Linked DNA regions of Homo sapiens: region 2 is linked to region 1. Evidence: promoter capture Hi-C in 16 types of primary human blood cells and fetal thymus (Javierre and others, 2016). All regions are on one chromosome and are shown on one strand. Each heading gives the region's core, a stretch centred on a gene start or on the middle of the fragment in contact. The rest is flanking DNA. Distances are from core to core; before and after follow the strand shown. Region 1 holds the start of IL1RL1 (interleukin 1 receptor like 1). Region 2 overlaps IL18RAP (interleukin 18 receptor accessory protein).

Region 1 (3,461 bases), core at 852-3,351:
TGTGGTGAGCTGAGATTGTGCCATTGCACTCCAGCCTGGGCAACAAGAGTGAAACTCCATCTCAAAAAAAAAACCAAAAAATCTTAAATTTGCAGATTTGTAAAATCCTACATCCCTGTCCCCACCTCTCTTTTCCCATGATCTTTAGTTTAGTTCCTCAAGGTCAGGAATGAGTCTCATCTTCTCTTGCACCTCTCACAGTGCCTGACACAATATTGGGGACATTGATAAGTATTGTTTTGTGTATTACTTAGGCATATTTTCTGTGGTTCTCTAGCAGTGGAGAATAAATGATTGATGATCTTATGAAGTCATAGTCCACCTAAAGACTGCGTAGTACGCAAATGAGTCTACCATTATCTCCTCGATGTAGATTTTCATCTTTTATGTATGGTGACTCTAGGTAAGGAGAAGAGGTGATCTAGCTCACTTGGTGGGACGAGCGTCTTGACACAAATCCACAAAAAAAGGAGAGTACACACAGCTGTTCATTTGTCTGTGTGTTGAGGTGGGGGTGGGGGAGGTGAGGTTGTATTCACACAGAGAAGACATCTTAGCTCTGCACCCAAACCAAAACGAGCGTCAGTGATGTTAAAGATTGAAGGTCAGGTGCTACCCAGGTTTTGTTAGTCTCTTGACATAAACATGGTGTCTAGATATGGTACATATTATGAATCATTCCATCTTTTCAAATACATTTTGAAGGGTTTTTTTGTTTGTTTGTTTGTTTTTGAGACAGAGTTTCGCTGTGTCACCAAGGCTGGAGCACCGTGGTGCAGTCTTGGCTCACTGCAACCTTTGACTCCCGGGTTCAAGCAATTCTCGTGCCTCAGCCTCCTGAGTAGCTTGGATTAGAGGTGTGCACCATCACACGCAGCAAATTTTTGTATTTTAGTAGAGACGGGGTTTCACCATGTTGGCCAGGATGTTGGGATTACAGGCGTGAGCTACCATGCCCTGCCAGAAGGTTTGTTTTTATTTTAAACACAATTGTGCTGGGTGTGATAGGATGGGTATATGATAGAGCAGAAAATCACTAGTATTTCATCAATATGGATAGCATCCTCCATAGGTTACTGATTTAATATTGACAACAATACCCTTCACACGAGAGAGAGGTTAGAGAATTTGCCCAAAGTCAAGCAGCTGGGAAGAGGAAAACTAGGCTGTGCTCTCCCTAAATCTCATGCTCTATTATATTAGGGAAGACTCTGGCAGATGGCACATCCTGATTATTTGAAAGTCACCAATATTTTTAGAAATTGCATAGATAATTAAGGTTAGTTTATCCAGAATTCTAATAATTGCAGCACATGTCCATAAATCTCTATTACAACCACCTGAGATAGGCCATCTCGGGCATGTGGAAAAAGCCCAGGTATAGACACTTTGGATCCTGGATTTCCCTTGTACTGGCTGCTACCTTGGGTAAGGTAATTCTCCTCTCTGAAGCTCCTGTCAGCTTCTGAGGATTGCGTGGGATAGCACATACCAAATTACTGCACACAGAGCCTGGTGTACACTTAAGCACACGAGATGTGTCAAAGTTTTCAAAAACATTGCCAACGAGGCATCAGTTACAAAACTTGCTGCAGAGTGAGCTGATATTGTGCCACTGCACTCCAGCCTGGGTGACACAGTGAGGCTTTGCCTCAAAAAAAAAAAAAAAAAAAAAAGAAAGAAACACCAAATAAGCAACTTGCTGCAGAAATGGGTACTCTTGTTCTAGAAATGTGACTATAGGGAAGTTACAACTACCAACTCGCGTTAAGGGAAATGAGTGACCTGCCACCTACATGGTGTTAGGGAGGTTTTGCTGAGAAAGTCACTCATGAAGAAGGCAAAATATAGTTAAGACAAAATGTAACTATCTATAGAGATAAGGTAAAAATTGGAAATAGAACTTCATTAAAGATCTTTCAAATAGGGAGAATGTGGTGAAAACTGCAGTTAACATTTGTTAACAGTGTGATCATCGGGTTCAGCTTATCAGTAACCTGGTTCCTGTCTCTTAACTGATAAAGAAAATGGGAGGTTTTTAAAGAGAGGCTGGCTGTTGTATTTAGTAAAGCTATAAAGCTGTAAGAGAAATTGGCTTTCTGAGTTGTGAAACTGTGGGCAGAAAGTTGAGGAAGAAAGAACTCAAGTACAACCCAATGAGGGTAAGTGGCTTTGGGGTATTTTTCAAAAATACTTTTATCTCAAAGGGAACAAAATTTTCACATACGAATTTAGGTCATTATAACAATAATATTCATTGTTATATTATTATAACATTATATGTTATAATAATATATAATATATATAATATATAATTGTTATAACATTATAACAATTATATATTATATATAATACAATTATATAATATATATTATATAATTGTAATATATAATATAATTATATAATATATATTATATAATATAATATATAATATATCATATATGTTATATATTTTATTATATAATATATATTATATATAATATTATATATAATATATATTATATATAATATTATATATAATATATATTATATATAATATATTTATATATATTATATATAATATATATTATATATTAAATATTATATATATAATATATATAACATTATTGTTATAATGTTATAACATTATTATATATTAAATATAATATATATAATATTATATTTATATTGAGGAAAACATTCACTCAATGACAGAGGGAAGACTTAGCTTTCCAAACAATCTTCTGTTAAAAGAAAAACTTTAGCTGAATTAAATTTAAAGGAGTTTAATTGTGTTTTGGTGCCTTATGCAAATGAAGGGCCTATAATATAATATATAATGTAATATATATAACATTATAACAATAATAATCATTGTTATCAATTTTGCTTGTGAGAAAAGTAGTATTACCAATGGGAAAATCATGGTACAGATTGATGAAATCCCTTGAAATCTTGTTTGTGTAATATGGGACTTTGGTCCAACGTGTTGGAAAAGACCTGGTTGAGGGTAAGAAAGGATGGGAGCTTTATAGTATACACACAGAGTGCTCATATTCTGGAGTTATTCTTTCTGAAATCCACAAAATCCAGCAGTGTAATCTACTCAGATGGAGATGAAGGAAAAAAACAAAACAAATGAAGCAAGAAGCTGCTGGCCAAAAGGGGTGAGGAAGCAGGGTCATACCCATCTGCAAGAAGAAAATAGAGAACGGACATGAGAGGGGTGGATATGAGGATATGAGAAGGCCCTCTTGAGTGAGGGCCATTGTTTCTGGAGGGGTGGGGAGTGAATGACTGATGTAAGTTCAAGTTTGTTGCGGGTGCCTGCTTTGATCCTCTGCTTGGTGGCTCCATTCTTCTTCTCTCTGAAGGCTACTTCAACAGAGGGTGCAGAGGTAAACATAGCAGAACTGGCCCCCAAAGCTTTATCCACTGAATGTCAGTTTTTCCTTTAATTTCTTCCAGGCATAAGGAAATCG
Region 2 (3,252 bases), core at 306-2,805, 130 kb after region 1:
AAGGCTACAAGAATGAGTGCCCGGATGCTTTATCTGGCCTCCAAGAACTTTCCATTTTGAGAAGAAGACAAAGGTGAAGCAGGCTGTCATAATACAGTGCAGCAAGAGAAAGGAGCACTATGGGCACATGGAGGCCCACCAGACCCAACCTGGGGAAGCCCGCTCCAAGTGAGAGCTGATGGATGAGGACACACCAGCTCAGTAAGGGTGGGGAGCTTCCATTCCAGACTGAGGAAGCAGCAGAGCTGATGTCCAGGAGATGAAGAAGAGCATCTGGGAGTAGGACTGACATCACACTCTTCTAATACGTGTTAAAATTATCTAATTACCTAATTATCTAATACGTGTTAAAATTTATGAAGGAACAATGGGGAGGCATTGAGGATTTTAAGTGGGAGAATGTCGTGACTGAATTTGTATTCAAGATAGATCACCTTGTTTGCTGGGTCGGAAGTGGGTTTGTAAGAGCAGGAATGGAGGCAGGGAGAAGAGTTAGGAAGTTCTGTGGTCAAGCAGGCAGTTGCTGATAGGGATCTGAACTAGGGAGTGGTAGAGGGAATGGAGAGAAGTGGATGACTTTGGAAATGTTTAAGAGGTACATTTAAAGGATTTGGTGTTCGGGAGCAAGGAAGAGGGAAAGCAGGAGCCATGGATACAAGCCAGCCTTTGAGCTGGTCAAGGAGGGAATGTGCTGACAGAGCACAACAGTACAGAGGATGAGAGCAGGCACAGTCGTGGAGCAGCAAGCTTGACTCATGGTTAAACCATGCCTCTGCTTGTGCTGTAAATAGACCTAGCAGAGGTGATGAGAAGTAGCTGGACTTGTAGGTCAACAGAGCATGATAATGGTTTTTACATAAAAGGTAGGAGAAAGAGAAGAATCAAGGATGTTTTTTGTTTTCTGCCCTGGATAAGTTAGTGAATGGTGGTACCATTTAAGGAGACTGAAAAAGCTGAAGGGAAAGAGCATTTGAAGAGGAGATTAAGTATTAGGCTTAAAAGGACTTTTAGTCATCCAAGTCATGACGACAAGTAGGTATTTGGACAAGCCAGTCTGGAGAAGTTAGGGCTGGAGATGTGAATGTGAAGATGATCGATTTTTACATAATATCTGAAGCCAAAGAGCTGAATGAGATCACCTAGGAAGTGGGCATAGAGACAGAAGGGGCTAGAGCCAAACCCGGAAATGCTTGAAGAGGTGGAGAAGAGGAAGACAATCCTCAAAGAGGATGGGAACATACATCAGCAAGTGAATATCAGTGGAAGGGTGGTGAGAAGAGAAACAAACGAAGTGAAATTGATGATGTAGGAAAGACATAACCTCAGGCACCAAGACCTTTCATAGGGAAGAGGCCTAGAGAGTAAACTTACTACCCAGGGGTATCAGGAGGAGTGAAAGAACACTAGGAGAGGACTAATAGTTAAAAGAGACACAGAGGAAGGGACAGGCACAGAGAAGTGAATATAGCGGTTGAAAGTAAGCAGTAGAGTACGGGAACATGGAACCAAAAGAAGAGAGGGTTTCAAAGAGAGCATGGCCAACAGTGTCCAATGCTGCTAAGAGGTAAAGTAGACGAAAAATGTGATTATGCCCAATGGATTTAGGTGCATAGGTGGCACTGGTGAATTTGGTTAAGCAGTTTTAGTGGACAGATGGCGGCGGAAATCAGGTTCCATAGGAGGTGAAAGGATGGAGGGAATTAGCACATAGAACTGCCTTTCAAGAATTTGGCTGGGAAGGAAGGAGAATAAGTGAGGCTGGGATATAAGGCAGGGTGTGTTTTCTCTTTTTTAGGATGATGAGACTGAGCATGAATAAATGTTGATGAGAAGAAGCCCAGAGAAAGCGAGAGAGAGAGAGGGAGAGAGAGACAAGTTAAAAATACAGGACTGAGATGGTGCAAAGGGGAGAAGGAGGTCTCTGAGAAGTAAAAGTAGGTGATGTCAACAGCAAAGACCCTGGATTTTTCTTTATCCAGAAAAAGACACACCTTCAGGAGGAAGTTTGACAGTGGAGGCATATTTGACAGTGGAGGCATATTTGTGGCAAGAAGTTGATGGATAAAATTGTTAATTAAGGACTGGACTCTTCTTTATTTTGAAATAAACCATGAGTTTAAGGATGGAGGGGTGGACTCGGATATGCTTGACTTGCACAGTTTCTTGGGTGGATTCTCCTTTCAGTTCAATTACTCAGCCAGATGGCACCACAAAGAAATCTTGTGGGAAAAGACAGGGATAGGAGCTCAGGTCTGCAAGGGGCAGGATTAGTGTGAAAGAGAATGCACACAAGCAGATATGGATCAATTAACAACTAATGTTTTACCAGCACCCACAACCTGATGTGGCAGTCATTTTAGGGGGCAAGCTTTTTACATGGAAACCGGAATTCCTAACTTACAGGTAATTAGTAAAATGTGAAGACAGAGCTCCAAGACATTTAGATCAAAGTGTGGCTGTGCACCTAAATCTTCATCAAGCAGGCCTTCAGACTTTCCAATGCAAATAGTAATCTTTGTTTTCATCTTTCAGTGGGAGACACTAAACTCAAACCAGATATTCTGGATCCTGTCGAGGACACACTGGAAGTAGAACTTGGTAAGCTGGGCCTCATCGCCTTTGAATGACATCGTGCTGCTGGGAGCAGGTCTAAGTGTGATAGAAGGAAAACAGCATTGGGATTTCCAGTCAAACAGAATTGGGTGTGAATCTTAACTCAGCCATTGACTAGTTTTGTGACTTTGCACAGTTACTTCATCCTTTAAGCCTCAGTACTTAAATCCGCAAATAGCTATCATAAAACTGACCCTAAAAGATTATATTGCAGGCCGGGCATGGTGGCTTATGCCTGTAATCCCAGCACTTTGGGAGGCTGAGGTGGGTAGATCACTTGAGGTCAGGAGTTTGAGACCAGCCTGGCCAACATGGTGAAACCCCATCTCTACTAAAACTACAAAAATTAGCCGGGCGTGGGTGTGGGTGCCTGTAATCCCAGCTACTCAGGATGACAAGGCAGGAGAATCACCTGAACCTGGGAGGCGGAGGTTACAGTGAGCCGAGATCGAGCCATTGCACTCCATCCTGGGTGGCAGAGCAAGATTCCATCTCAAAGAAAAAAAAAAATTATACTGAGAAATAATGGGACAATGTATGTTAAGTGGCTGGAGCATGAAACCTGATCAATAGATTTTATTCTTCCTTAACTTCCCCAGGAACAGGTGGTTTCGTACATGTTGGTTAGGTCTATCAGTT

The links. Contacts are between HindIII fragments. The CHiCAGO score rates a contact against its expected background, and 5 or more counts as called.
Region 2: a fragment that was not itself captured here is called in contact with the fragment with the promoter of IL1RL1 in region 1 in 1 of 17 cell types (total CD8 T cells); the score reaches 5.0 in total CD8 T cells.

Annotation. Positions count from the first base shown.
Region 1 is chr2:102,309,462-102,312,922 of GRCh38, forward strand. It overlaps IL1RL1 (interleukin 1 receptor like 1), which reads left to right and starts at 2,102. Exons shown (of 11, transcript NM_016232.5): 1 at 2,102-2,162. The HindIII fragment of the contact is 5,145 bases long and covers 1-3,403 here.
Region 2 is chr2:102,438,780-102,442,031 of GRCh38, forward strand. IL18RAP (interleukin 18 receptor accessory protein) reads left to right here. Exons shown (of 10, transcript NM_001393487.1): 5 at 2,533-2,598. Among named protein-coding and RNA genes, the nearest start is that of MIR4772, 8.1 kb to the left of the region's middle. The HindIII fragment of the contact is 1,621 bases long and covers 746-2,366 here.